Linked DNA regions of Homo sapiens: regions 2, 3 and 4 are each linked to region 1. The links are contacts of gene promoters, found by promoter capture Hi-C in blood cells and fetal thymus (Javierre and others, 2016). All regions are on one chromosome and are shown on one strand. The core of a region is centred on a gene start or on the middle of the fragment in contact, and the rest is flanking DNA. Distances in the headings are between cores, read along the strand shown. Region 1 holds the start of EMC7 (ER membrane protein complex subunit 7). Region 2 overlaps AQR (aquarius intron-binding spliceosomal factor). Region 3 overlaps AQR (aquarius intron-binding spliceosomal factor). Region 4 overlaps AQR (aquarius intron-binding spliceosomal factor).

The links. Contacts are between HindIII fragments. The CHiCAGO score rates a contact against its expected background, and 5 or more counts as called.
Region 2: a contact is called between a fragment that was not itself captured here and the fragment with the promoter of EMC7 in region 1, in 3 of 17 cell types (total CD4 T cells, activated CD4 T cells and fetal thymus). The highest score is 6.2, in total CD4 T cells.
Region 3: a fragment that was not itself captured here is called in contact with the fragment with the promoter of EMC7 in region 1 in 1 of 17 cell types (naive CD4 T cells); the score reaches 6.0 in naive CD4 T cells.
Region 4: a fragment that was not itself captured here is called in contact with the fragment with the promoter of EMC7 in region 1 in 1 of 17 cell types (non-activated CD4 T cells); the score reaches 5.8 in non-activated CD4 T cells.

Annotation. Positions count from the first base shown.
Region 1 is chr15:34,100,144-34,103,344 of GRCh38, forward strand. It overlaps EMC7 (ER membrane protein complex subunit 7), which reads right to left and starts at 1,719. Exons shown (of 5, transcript NM_020154.3): 1 at 1,461-1,719. The coding sequence starts at 1,696. PGBD4 (piggyBac transposable element derived 4) reads left to right here and starts at 1,940. Exons shown (of 1, transcript NM_152595.5): 1 at 1,940-3,201. The coding sequence starts at 2,389. RefSeq lists enhancers at 863-1,720, 1,330-2,029, 2,060-2,149. The HindIII fragment of the contact is 6,792 bases long and covers 347-3,201 here.
Region 2 is chr15:34,943,628-34,946,828 of GRCh38, forward strand. It overlaps AQR (aquarius intron-binding spliceosomal factor), which reads right to left. Exons shown (of 35, transcript NM_014691.3): 6 at 661-801. Among named protein-coding and RNA genes, the nearest start is that of AQR, 25 kb to the right of the region's middle. The HindIII fragment of the contact is 1,420 bases long and covers 850-2,269 here.
Region 3 is chr15:34,925,117-34,928,317 of GRCh38, forward strand. It overlaps AQR (aquarius intron-binding spliceosomal factor), which reads right to left. Exons shown (of 35, transcript NM_014691.3): 13 at 1,919-2,022. Among named protein-coding and RNA genes, the nearest start is that of AQR, 43 kb to the right of the region's middle. RefSeq lists a silencer at 2,692-2,986. The HindIII fragment of the contact is 5,060 bases long and covers 1-3,201 here.
Region 4 is chr15:34,884,183-34,887,383 of GRCh38, forward strand. It overlaps AQR (aquarius intron-binding spliceosomal factor), which reads right to left. Exons shown (of 35, transcript NM_014691.3): 25 at 2,344-2,479; 26 at 343-552. Among named protein-coding and RNA genes, the nearest start is that of AQR, 84 kb to the right of the region's middle. The HindIII fragment of the contact is 1,187 bases long and covers 1,065-2,251 here.

The DNA of each region.
Region 1 (3,201 bases), core at 469-2,968:
CACACTGGGCAACATAGCAAGACCCTGTCTCTACAAAAAATTAAAAAATTAGCTGGACATGATGGTGTCCGCCTGTAGTCCTATCTACTGAGGAGGCTGAGACAGGAGGATCACTTGAGTACAGAAGTTCGAAGCTGCCATGAACTATGATCTCGCCACTGCACTCCAGGCTGAGTAACAGAAAAAGACCTTGTCTCAAAAAAATAAAAAGAAAGATACAATGAAACATTAAGGGTTGTTTTCCTACTTTGTTTCTAATATACTATTTTTAAACAGAAATTAAATGCTTTTTAAAAGAACTGTATACAGAAGAGTGGCCAAATGGTCAATTAAGGCTTATTCCTAAAGCTTAATGAGAACTTTATCATTAAAACATCATTAATTAGGGTAAACTCTAACGAATGCCCTAATGCCAGATTCTTAATGACAGACAGCAGTAAAATACTGGTTGTAAATTTGTCACTATTTATTAATCTGAGGTTGAATAACCACTCAAGGGCACTTAGATGATCTGAACAAATATGTAAATCAGATTTGGATTTAAATGTCTACATTTAAGTTGTCTGATTTTCAGATACCATTTGCTGGTGTACGAACCCACCAAAGGAAATACTTCCTAATTATTTGCTTTCAGTTTACAGTTTCACCTCCAAGTAAGGGTGGAAAGATTTAAAACAACATACGCGTGCCTAGACATTTCAAAAGCAGGCTGCTGCAAAACTAGTGCTAACAAATTCATCCTGTCTTTTAATATAGACAGAAAACCCACTTCCACTAATAGCATGAAAGGACAGAAGCAAGAAAGCAATGTAGAGGAACCCTAGTCTCACATAAATGACAAGTGTGATATAGCAAATCTCTCGATGAATTCAACTGTAAAAAAGAACAACGATCCCACCCCCAAGCAAAAAAAAAAAGAAAAAAAAAGTGCTTTGATTAGGGATTTCAGAGCCTATTAATTTTAGAAGCAGTAACATTAGCCTCCCAGTCTATGTCGTCACTAGAAGCCCTTTGGGTTTTGAGAATTCCCACTTGTGTCGCATCTTTCTACATAATAACAAGCTACCAAAAGACTGAAGTGAATGCAAAAAACGACTAGGTTCTAGGGAAACCAGATGAGATATAAAAGAATCCAACAAGAGACTAATAAGGGTCCACCTGTCCCCAGGGCCCAGGAATGATCGTCCCCACATGGGGCCAAAATAAGGTTGGAAATAACTGACTCCATGCTCTGACCATGGCAGGGGGTGAGCGCCTGCCATGCTCATTCCAGAGGTACAGGACCAGGAAAGGGAAAGCATCCGACTGCCTCCCAAGGTCTCCCGGCATAGACCGTTAGCGGCACCCTCCCCTTCAGTCTGAGACAGCGACGTTGTCCCGTCCTGACACTTAACTCTCCTGGTGGGGTCCCTGTCCGGCCTCCATCCCAGCCTTTTTCCCGCTGCCCTCAGGATGCTCACTTAAGGAAACCGACGTGCTCTTCTCCGTCTACCAGCACTCGGGCCGCCGAGATCCAGTCCTGAGGCTTCACCCCTGGAACAACTGCACGCCCCTCAATCTTGAAGCGATCTCCTATGCCGACCCCACTCCCTCCCGATCCCTCAGCAGCAGCCCCGGGCACCTCCGAGCTCTGGACATCCCCCGATAGCAGCAGCAGCAGCAGGACGGGAAAGAAGCCCCACAGAGCGGCCGCCATGACAGCAGCTCTGCACTCAGACCGGCAGCCCCGGAAGCCCTCCCAGTCTCCCGGCCGCCACCGCCGCCGCTGGCGGCTTGATGTTGTCATCACTGCGCGCCCGTTTCTGTCATAAGCTGTGGGATCCAACCAGAGGGAAGAGATCATGGCCGATCGACTAGCGAGGCGGAAGTAAGGCGGAAGTACTGCCCTTAACTCCCGGCACTCTGGATTGGAAGACGGCGCACAGAGCCTGTGTCAAGTGCCTATGAAGGGGACTGCCCATGAAGTGAAAGTCAAGTGTGTGTTGCTGCGGCAGCCACGGAGGCCAAGGACCTCACGGGAGTAAAAGATGACGAGACTGGCTTCGGGAGAAACACCATCCAGAAGAGACCTTTCAAAAAACTTCTAGAGACTCCCCAAGACGTATGAGATGAAAGGCTTCTTCTGTCTGTGTGCGTTTAACTCATTTCTCCTTAGCCCCGAGATTACGCGCTGCTGTGCCTGCGACTGCAGCGTTTACGCCGAGATAACTCGTGGATTACAGTGCCAACCTTACTCCCAAAGTTTGCCACGAAATATCTCGCTTCTGTTATTTTCGCATGGTTCTGGTATATTGACTTTTGAAACAAAAGACATCATTCTGTTTATAGCATTCTGTTTTTAGTAGTGGGATTTCCATCTACAAAATATAGTAATTCTCGATCGCTGAAATGTCAAATCCTAGAAAACGTAGCATTCCTATGCGTGATAGTAATACCGGTCTCGAACAGTTGTTGGCTGAAGATTCATTTGATGAATCTGATTTTTCGGAAATAGATGATTCTGATAATTTTTCGGATAGTGCTTTAGAAGCCGATAAGATCAGGCCTCTGTCCCATTTAGAATCTGATGGAAAGAGCTCTACATCAAGTGACTCAGGGCGCTCCATGAAATGGTCAGCTCGTGCTATGATTCCACGTCAAAGGTATGACTTTACCGGCACACCTGGCAGAAAAGTCGATGTCAGTGATATCACTGACCCATTGCAGTATTTTGAACTGTTCTTTACTGAGGAATTAGTTTCAAAAATTACTAGAGAAACAAATGCCCAAGCTGCCTTGTTGGCTTCAAAGCCACCGGGTCCGAAAGGATTTTCGCGAATGGATAAATGGAAAGACACTGACAATGACGAGCTCAAAGTCTTTTTTGCAGTAATGTTACTGCAAGGTATTGTGCAGAAACCTGAGCTGGAGATGTTTTGGTCAACAAGGCCTCTTTTGGATACACCTTATCTCAGGCAAATTATGACTGGTGAAAGATTTTTACTTTTGTTTCGGTGCCTGCATTTTGTCAACAATTCTTCTATATCTGCTGGTCAATCAAAGGCCCAGATTTCATTGCAGAAGATCAAACCTGTGTTCGACTTTCTTGTAAATAAATTTTCCACTGTATATACTCCAAACAGAAACATTGCAGTTGATGAATCACTGATGCTGTTCAAGGGGCCATTAGCTATGAAGCAGTACCTCCCGACAAAACGAGTA
Region 2 (3,201 bases), core at 310-2,809, 840 kb after region 1:
AACTCCATGCATTCCTCCTGCATGGGTGTAAGTGAATTATCAATTCAGAGGCACTAAATAAATATGTGTATTTATCAGCTAACCACACAGGAAAGCTCAAATAAAATATTACTGAAAATATTTAATTTTTTAGAAGATAATCTTATGAAGGATGAAAATGTATCACACACAAGACATTTTCAAAGATCATTTACACTTGGCCTTTATCAGTCAACTCAAAATACAACTCTCCTGTTGACTAACCAGCCTATGCATAAGGCATGATGAAAAGCAATGAAACTACATTCCTGTATGTATATGCAGTTTGTGGCACAGATCTCATTACTCCAATTCCATATAACCAGTCTCCTTGCTGCTTCTCATTTTTGTGCTCTCCCTTTAGAGTTTCAGTTCTTATAATCATTTTTCTTAAGAGTCTAGATAGAAAAAATTAAGTATCAATTTCAAATCTATTAAAAAGTGAACATATCTTATAAAAACATATCTTAAAGACTTATAAAATGGTTTTACTGATAAGTGGCTGAAATCAAGCTTTTAGCATTATCCTTATTGCCTGCTATTATGGATGAATGGAGTTGGCTACAGAGGTAATTTCATCTAAACTCAACCTAAAAGAACAAGAAAACTTGAAAATTACCCCAAAATATAAAGTAAAAGTACCAAACTATTGAAGCAATGATCAAGAAAAAGTAGTAAGACTGTCTGTTCATGAAGTGAAAATTCACCATCAGTTTCAGCTAATGCCGCCTTCAAGATGTGTTTAAAAAAGAATGGGAAGTGGTCTGGCTTCTTCTTAAAAATCTGAAAAGAAACAGAATAAAATTCATTTTGTATTGGCTTGCTCACTTAAGCTTTAAAGAAGCCCTAGTAGGCTTTTTAGCAGTCTATTAAAAAAACCAAATAATTACAAAAGGGTTATTTGTATATGTATAAAAGAAGCATCACGTGCTTACTTATAATTAATGGCAAGTCAAATACAGGTTTCTGACAGGACTATGAGAGAGCTGCAGAACCCTTTAGCTAATAAAATAATGGCTTTCATTTCTTTAGTTTTTCCTCTGTGGATTATGCCTGTATTTAGCTTAGGCTTTGTTTTCTTATTAAGGATCTGAAGTGTTTTAATTTCTCTGATTTAAACAAAAGAAACTACATCTTTAGCAAAAATTGTAGTTTTCACACTGTAATTAATCTCAAGAACAGCCCCTCCTGCTTTATATTAGCTCTTTACTCTTAACTTGTAAATAATGTAAATATATTCAAGCCTCTTTGACCTACCTCTGTTTCTAGTTACTGCCACAGACAAATGCTCCAAGCGTGTGGTCTATACTAGTTGTTTTCATTCACTTCTCTAAGACAAGCTCTCCTGAAGCTGTATGGCTGTCAAGTCCTATGGACCCTTATTAACTCTCAACTCCTTTTCACCATATTGAAGGCTCTTCTTCTTTTGCCTGTTATCTAAACCGCAATATTCGTAGGGTTCTAGCCTCATTCTTCTCCCTCTATTACTTCAACCACTAAATACCAATGATTCCAAATATACATCTGCAGTCCAGATTTCTCTTCTGAGCTCTCAAACCTTAGATTCCTCTACTAGATGACTTAATCTAGATATTCCAAAGGCAATTTAAACTGAATATGTCCAAATTCAATTCAACAGTTTTGTATCCTCCAAATTATTCCTCACTCTCTATTACCTATCTTGGTAAATGGCACCATCATATATTATATTCATTTGCCCAAGCCTGGAAGGTTATTGAAAATAACACCCTTTCCTAATGCTACTTCAACTGATTATCAAATTCAATCAATTCTACCTTCTACATCTCTGTATATCCTCTAAATCTGTATTATCATTTCTCTATTTCAAGGCCTAATCACCAAAGTGATCTTTATAACAGGTAAACTGACCAGGTTATTCCCTGGCTCAAAAAATTTTCCTTCTTCCTTTCTGTATTTCTATAATAGCTTGAAGCAACTTGAAGAAACCCCTAGGCTCTCTTGATAGTGACATAAAACCCATAGTTTATTCTGAGCTCTAATGTGCCCTGAGATGGTAGTCATTTAATGAATATTTGAGATAAGTGTCCATGGTTTTATCTTAAAGACTCTATCACCTTTTCACTTTGGTGACCATTTACTCAAAACAGATGACAGGCATCCATTCCTTTTTTTCATTTAAAAAAGTCTGACTGGAAGAGAAGAAACTCTTGATGAAGTGACCATTATATGGCGGGCAAAGAAAACAAAGATTTTGGATCCCTACTGATCAAGCTTCTGTTGCACCAGCACAAAAAGGAAACATCAGTGCATTAGAAATTTCTAAAAGGAAAAATAGATCCCAAATCAAGGACAAAAAGAACAGGCCAGGCACAGTGACTCATGCCTGTAATCCCAGCACTTTGGGAGGCCGAGGCGGGTGGATCATCTAAGGTCAGGAGTTTGAGACCAGCCTGGCCAATATGGTGAAACCCCATCTCTACTAAAAATACAACAATTAGCTGGGCATGGTGGCGGGCACCTGTAATCCCAGCTTCTTGGGAGGCAGAGGCAGGAGAATTGCTGGAACCTGGGAGGCAGATGTTGCAGTGAGCTGAGATCACGCCATTTGCACTCCAGCCTGGATAACAAGAGCTAAATTCAGTCTCAAAACAAAAAACCAAAAGAACATTGAAATTATAATGTAAGCATCTGTCTTGACTTTGGTAACTTTTTTTATTCATGTAAAACTACAAATATAAACTCCCTCTTGAGGTCGGGGGGGTCAGCCCCCCGCCCGGCCAGCCGCCCCGTCCGGGAGGGAGGTGGGGGGGGTCAGCCCCCCGCCCGGCCAGCCGCCCCGTCCAGGAGGGAGGTGGGGGGGTCAGCCCCCCGCCCGGCCAGCCGCCCCGTCCGGGAGGGAGGTGAGGGGGTCAGCCCCCCGCCTGGCCAGCCGCCCCGTCCGGGAGGGAGGTGGGGGGGGTCAGCCCCCAGCCCGGCCAGCCGCCCCATCCGGGAGGTGAGGGGCGCCTCTGCCTGGCCGCCCCTACTGGAAAGTGAGGAGCCCCTCTGCCCGGCCAGCCGCCCGTCCGGGAGGGAGGTGGGGGGGTCAGCCCCCCACCCGGCCAGCCGCCCCGTCCGGGAGGGAGGGAGGTGGGGGGGTCAGCCCCCCGCCCGGCCAGCTGCCCCGTCCGGGAAGTGAGGGGCGTCTCTGCCCGGCCGCCC
Region 3 (3,201 bases), core at 359-2,858, 820 kb after region 1:
ACACAAACTAGACAAAGGGATTAGGACCAAAAATATTAAAAGTTCTTTAAAATCAGTAAGATGACAAGCAATGAAATGCAAAATAGCAAAGGAAAATAAGAAGGTTACAGAAGAAATGTAAATGGCCAAGAAAAAAACAGAAAAATGCTTAATTTCCCAAATAAGATCAGGGAAATGCAAAGTAAAATGAGATAAAAATAGAAAAAATTAAAATCCAATTTACCCAGCATTAGTAGGGAGAAAAATAAATCCTCATACGCTGTTAGTTTAAGTGTAAATTGATAGTCTTTTCTGAAGGAAATTTAGCAATATGTAACAAGTTTTAAACGCATGCCCCGTTTGAATCAGCCATTCTGCTTCTAGGAATCAGTACGAAAAGGATGCTCATTGCAGAACTGTTTGTAAAAGCCAAAACTTAAAAATTAAAGATTCACCAAAAGGAGGCCAGGAGCGGTGGCTCATGCCTCTAATCCCAGCTCTTTGGGAGGCCGAGGCAGGATCACCTGAGGTCAGGAGTTTGAGACCAGCCTGGCCAACATGGTGAAACCCCATCTTTGCTACTAAAAATTAGCTGGGCATGGTGGCGTGTGCCTGTAGTCCCAGCTATTCGGGAGGCTGACGCAGGAGAATCACTTGAACCCAGGAGGCAGAGGTTGCAGTGAGCCGAGATCGCACCACTGCACTCCAGCCTGGGCAATAGAGCAAGACTCCGTCTCAAAAAAAACAAAAAAAAAGACTCACCAATAGGAGATTAACTTTTAAAAAAATAAGGCCGGGCGCGGTGGCTCATGCCTGTAATCCCGGCACTTTGAGAGGCTGAGGCGGGCAGATCACGAGGTCAGAGATCGAGACCATCTTGGCTAACACGGTGAAACCCCGTCTCTACTAAAAATACAAAAAATTAGACGGGCGTGGTGGCGGGCGCCTGTAGTCCCAGCTACTCAGGAGGCTGAGGCAGGAGAATGGCGTGAACCCGGGAGGCGGAACTTGCAGTGAGCCACTGCAGTCTGGCCTGGGCGAAAGAGCGAGACTCCGTCTCAAAAAAATAAAATAAAATAAAAATAAATAAAAAAATAAAAAAATAGTATGCTGGTCCTGTTTAATGGAACTCTATGTAGTTATTTAAAATAATGAAATGAATCTATGTGTTATTAATTATATTAAATCCTCATATGAGAATGAACAACCAAACCAACCTCAGTTTATTACATTTTAAATAGTCAAGGAACTAAACATAATTTATCCCAAGAGCTGGGAGATGATACAGTATAGTAGTTAAAAGTTAGGGCTTGGAAATCACACTATCCGGGTTTAAATTGTATCTCTGCCACTTACTTGCTGTGTAACCTAGGCAAATTACTTAACTATTCTATGCCCCAGATACCTTATACGTAAAATGGTACCTACTTCTAGCATGAATGTTTTCAGAGTTGTTTACACACTTAACAGAACGTCTATCACATAGTAAATAAATGTATGCCATTATTATTACTATTTTCAAAAGGATATATTAGCAGATAGCTAACTGCCAGAGGATATTACTAATTTTATAAATTTTAAACATGCAAAAATTTCCCTAAGTCACACCTCTAATATCACACATAATGAATCTTTATTGGTTTTTGTCATATGTCGTTTATGACTGATGAGATTGACCAGCTTTATATTCTACTCTGAGAAAAATTTCAGATCGAAGAAAATTGTATACGTCATAAAAAACAGAAACTTTACCAAACGTGGGTAAGTGACAAAGACACCAAACTGCTGGAGAGAAGCACTAGTTGTAGACGTCAACGAAGAGTGAAATAACAAGTAATATTATCTAAAGTACTGCAAAATGATTAAAAGCAATAAAGAAAAGTAAAATTGAGGGAGCATGATACAAAAAAAGAATATATAGTTTTTCATGTTGTCTTACCTAAGAGGTCCAAAAAACTTGACCAAGGACTCCCGAGTATCTACTTCTGCCACATTTGAGAGGGCAAAATCATAGAGTTCAGGAAAATGTGCAAAAGCAGCTCTCTAGAAAATAATGGCAAAAAATATTAATAATTAATGTCTACATATTAATATAAACATCTACTATTTAAGAATGAAAATATTTTATAAAAATATTAACGCATTTCTGTCTCTTATATGCTTCTTTTATGTGACCTCTACCTTAATCAGACAGAAGCATATAATAAAAAGAGAAAAAACTACAACTGTCATAACAGAAATGTAAAAAACATAAAGTTGGCGTTCAGCTTTTGACATCTAAAAGGATTTTCAATATATACAAAATAGCCACAAAGGCTAGCTTTATTGACAGAAGAGGAGCAAAAAACAAATACACACTTGATTATCAAGAACTGGTCGAACAAGACTAAAAGAAAGTCCCAAGGGAAACTCTGGCTGCAGAGAACTTGGAAGGAGAGACCAAAAAACTTATGCTTGTGCCTTGCTTTTGTTTGGAACTCTGGGAAAAGACCTCACAGGGTAGCACTCTCAACCAACATAGGGTAAGCTGTAAGAAAACAGAAATAGTAGTATTGCACAGAGTGACTGAGATAATATCCCTAGTCTTCCTTGGGATTTAACAACAGAGTGATTGAAATAATATCCCTGTCTTCCTTGATGCCCACATGGCACAGAAAAGATCCGGAAGTTTTCATGTGTTCCATGGTGGATGACACAGAAGGTTGCCAAGGTTGCCATGAGTGAGCTTGCCATGGGATTATGAGATTACTACACACAATGGCAAAATGACTCTGCAACCCAAGCATGAGAATGAACTGTGTAAACAAGGAAATAAACAAGTCAGTCCTCAGGAGAATGCTAGCAGCATCAAGCAAAGTTAGGGCCTCCTCAACAGGGCAAATAGCCAAGTTCCTTGGAAGCAATAATGATGCCTTGCCTGTGTCAATACAATAGACCACATGCCACACCAGCTGTGGTTATTTCAAGGGCAGAGACAGGACAAAAACACTAATGCTCTGAAAAAAGCAGGAAAAGACATCTGCGTTAATCCTTCTTCCAAAACAATAAGGCTATTTTGGTGTCTCCACATACCTAGTAGGAAAGAAGAAAAACAGAGATTTTTTTTTTTCACTTTTTACACCATTATTTATTTATTTTTTCTTCTAAAAAAAATGGGATACATGTGGAAATGTGCAGGTTTGTTACATAGGTATACATGTGCCATGGTGGTTTGCTGCACCT
Region 4 (3,201 bases), core at 408-2,907, 780 kb after region 1:
GATAACTTGAGGTCAGGAGTTCGAGACCAGCCTGGCCAACATGGTGAAACCCTGTCTCTACTAAAAATACAAAAATTAGCTGGGCATGGTGGTGTGCACCTGTAATCCCAGCTGCTCGGAAGCTGAGGCAGGAGAATCGCCTGAACCTGGGAGGTGGAGGTTGCAGTGAGCCAAGATCATGCCACTGCACTCCAGCCTGGGCAACAGGGCAAGACTCCGTCTCAAAAAAAAACAAAAAAACAAAAAAACAAAAGATTTGAATATTTCACATTTACTTCAAAAAAAAACTAAACTAAATTAAAAACCACTAAAGGGAAGTTCAAAGAACTTGAGAATCCTTACCTCAAGCTGCGTAAAGATTTTCTTAATATGCCTGAAACATCCTTCAGCAATTTCCATGTCTTCTTCATAAGATCTTCCTTTAAAAATGGGTTGAGGAGCATTTGCAAAGTATTCATGGAAAGGGAAGAAAGTGGAGACTTCCGTAACATCTGGCAATGTACTACCTTTATTTTTCACTTTGCTGATATACTCTTCCCAGCGAGACATTACCTGTAGAAAAAAGGACTTGAAGTTAACTGCCAGCTAATTATGATGTTTTAAAGCATAAAATGAATAAATCTTATAAAAACAAGATCTGCTAGGTGAAAAAGAAAAAAAAAGAAATTCAATCTTTGATCCAATATAACTATTCTTCATTCCTGTAACTGACAGATTGCTCTTCTGTTATAAAAGTAACCTTGTCTTTGGAGAAAAAAAGGCTCTTTAATAACAAATTTCTACAAACTGGAAAGAGCCTTAACATCATCTCATAGAACTCTAACTCCGACAGTTCAGATTCTCCACGTAACTCAAGAGAGTTTATTATTAACGCTTAAAAGAAATGTAAAGGAAAGAAAGCTCTCTGGACAAAGAAATTGCTCATTTTTTTCATCTCTGTTTCTCTCCATATATGGTAAGTTCAGCTTTAGCAGCTTTTTAATCAATTTGGCACTTGTCAACCCTCTGTCAGTTTTTTAGAACATTTATAAAGAACGTCTGGTTAAGCTGAGTGTGTATTTGAAAGCTTATCTTATGACTTTTGTGATTATAGTTCAATTACTTTGTATAATGTTAGCTATGCGTCTACCAGCCAGTTACTATGTAACCTCAATTTCTGTAACTCTCCCAGGTCTTTTTCTGTTACTATCTCAGTGTTTCTCAAAAGTGTAGTCCTTATGCAAAATATCTGAGGAGCTAAATAAAAATGTGGATTCCTGGATTCCACCTCTATTGAATGAGAAGCTATAGGAACAAGGGCTAGGGAATTTAACTCGTAAACAACTTTCCTGATATGATTCTTAAATGTTGAAAACTGCCAATTTACACTGTGAAGCCTCAAGTTCATTCTTCCCAAATTTATTACATAAACCTTCTTAATTTATAGGTTATTTTTCCCACTTTTAAACATTATTTTCACTGAAAGCCAAGTAATTTTGTGTCAAAAAAGCATTTAAGCTGATCTTTACTCCTTTATGCAAGTCCTAAACAGTCTTGAATCTAATGTAGACTATATTATGTATTTTCCCTGCTTCACAAGAAACCATGAAAGCTGCTCATTTTGAATGGACTTAATTGGTTTGTGATATCCACTTACAATGAGCTTACAATATTATAATTTATATCTAAAATATACAATTGGCATTAGAACAAAGAGAACAAATGAAGTTATACAAAAATCTTCATTAGCCAATTATGTCCTAGTCCATTTAAAATTATTAATAATCCAACTGACTATTAAAGTTTAGTTTTATTCACTTTATTTGGCTATTTCTCATTGGTTTTCACACTTCCAAAATTTACCCTAACAAAAGTAAAAGTACATCTTTATGTTGAAGTCAGAAGCCTTTAACTTCAAGACCCACTGTGCAATTAGTTGTAAGACATAATTTATTTCTGGAAATTTGAAGGAAGAATGTTTTCCTTCATTAGTTGATTAATGTATACAATAAAAGTTAACTGTACTTTGTTGCCACTGGCTAGCTAGAATATTTATTTAGTTGTATTTCTACAGTAAAAAAAGAAAAAAGAGTGACTAGAACTTTGCCAATAGAAAGAAAAAAATGTAAAAAGTAGCAACATTGGTCTTTCACAGAATGAGTCATCAAGCAAAGTTATTTAGAAAAGAAAACTGAAGATAATACAAAATACACTTAACATTCATAAATATAGCACTTGCAATACCATACATTCTAATCTACTCAAAAAAATAAGCTTTCATGAAGGATCACAAGAACTCATTCCAGCTTCCAACTGGGGTTCATATTATGATGAAGTATGATTCAAAAACCCTTAATATCTTACCTGGTATAAGAAGAAATAGCCTGCAGTTTCACAGGTATATGAGGCATCTCCTGGAACCCCTAGACTCTTTTGCAATCGTTTGACTTCTTCTAAAAGTTCTATTCTTCGAGCCAGAACATAATTAACTCTTCCATACCTAGACATTTCAATTAGGCAAAATGACAAAACTGTAATAAAGAGACTTTGAAGGAAACAATCAGCAAAATTCAAGAAAATCATAATAGCAAAGAAGAGGAAAAAAAACTAGAAGATATGGCTTCTATTTAACTATTGGTGGTAGTTCTTGGGTTACTTTACACAAAAGCTACTTAAAGTAGGTGGGTCACGGTGGTTCACGCCTGTAATCCCAACACTTCGGGGAGGCTGAGGCGGACAGATCATGAGGTTAGGAGATCGAGACCATCATGGCTAACATGGTGAAACCCTGTCTCTACTAAAAATACAAAAAAATTAGCCGGGCATGGTGGCGGGCACCTGTAGTCCCAGCTACTTGGGAGGCCGAGGCAAGAGAATGGCGTGAACCTGGGAGGCGGAGCTTGCAGTGAGCAGAGATGGCGCCACTGCACTCCAGCCTGGGCGACAAAGCAAGACTCCGTCTCAAAAAAAAAAAAGAAAAAGCTACTTAGAGTATACTCCATGGAACAGTATTGATCTGCAAGGGTGTTACTGGTCTAGGAGGAGGGAAAGTCAACTACATCACCAAATACACCATTTAGTTCAGCTCTCAATCTTTCTTTTCACAGCAAGACACTTTCACAAAGAAGAAAGCAGGACAGTGCATTCTGGTGCTAGTTCATTTCATCACAGACCAAGAACATGTAAGTTCACAAACTGGCTGCTTCAAACAGCACTGTTTTA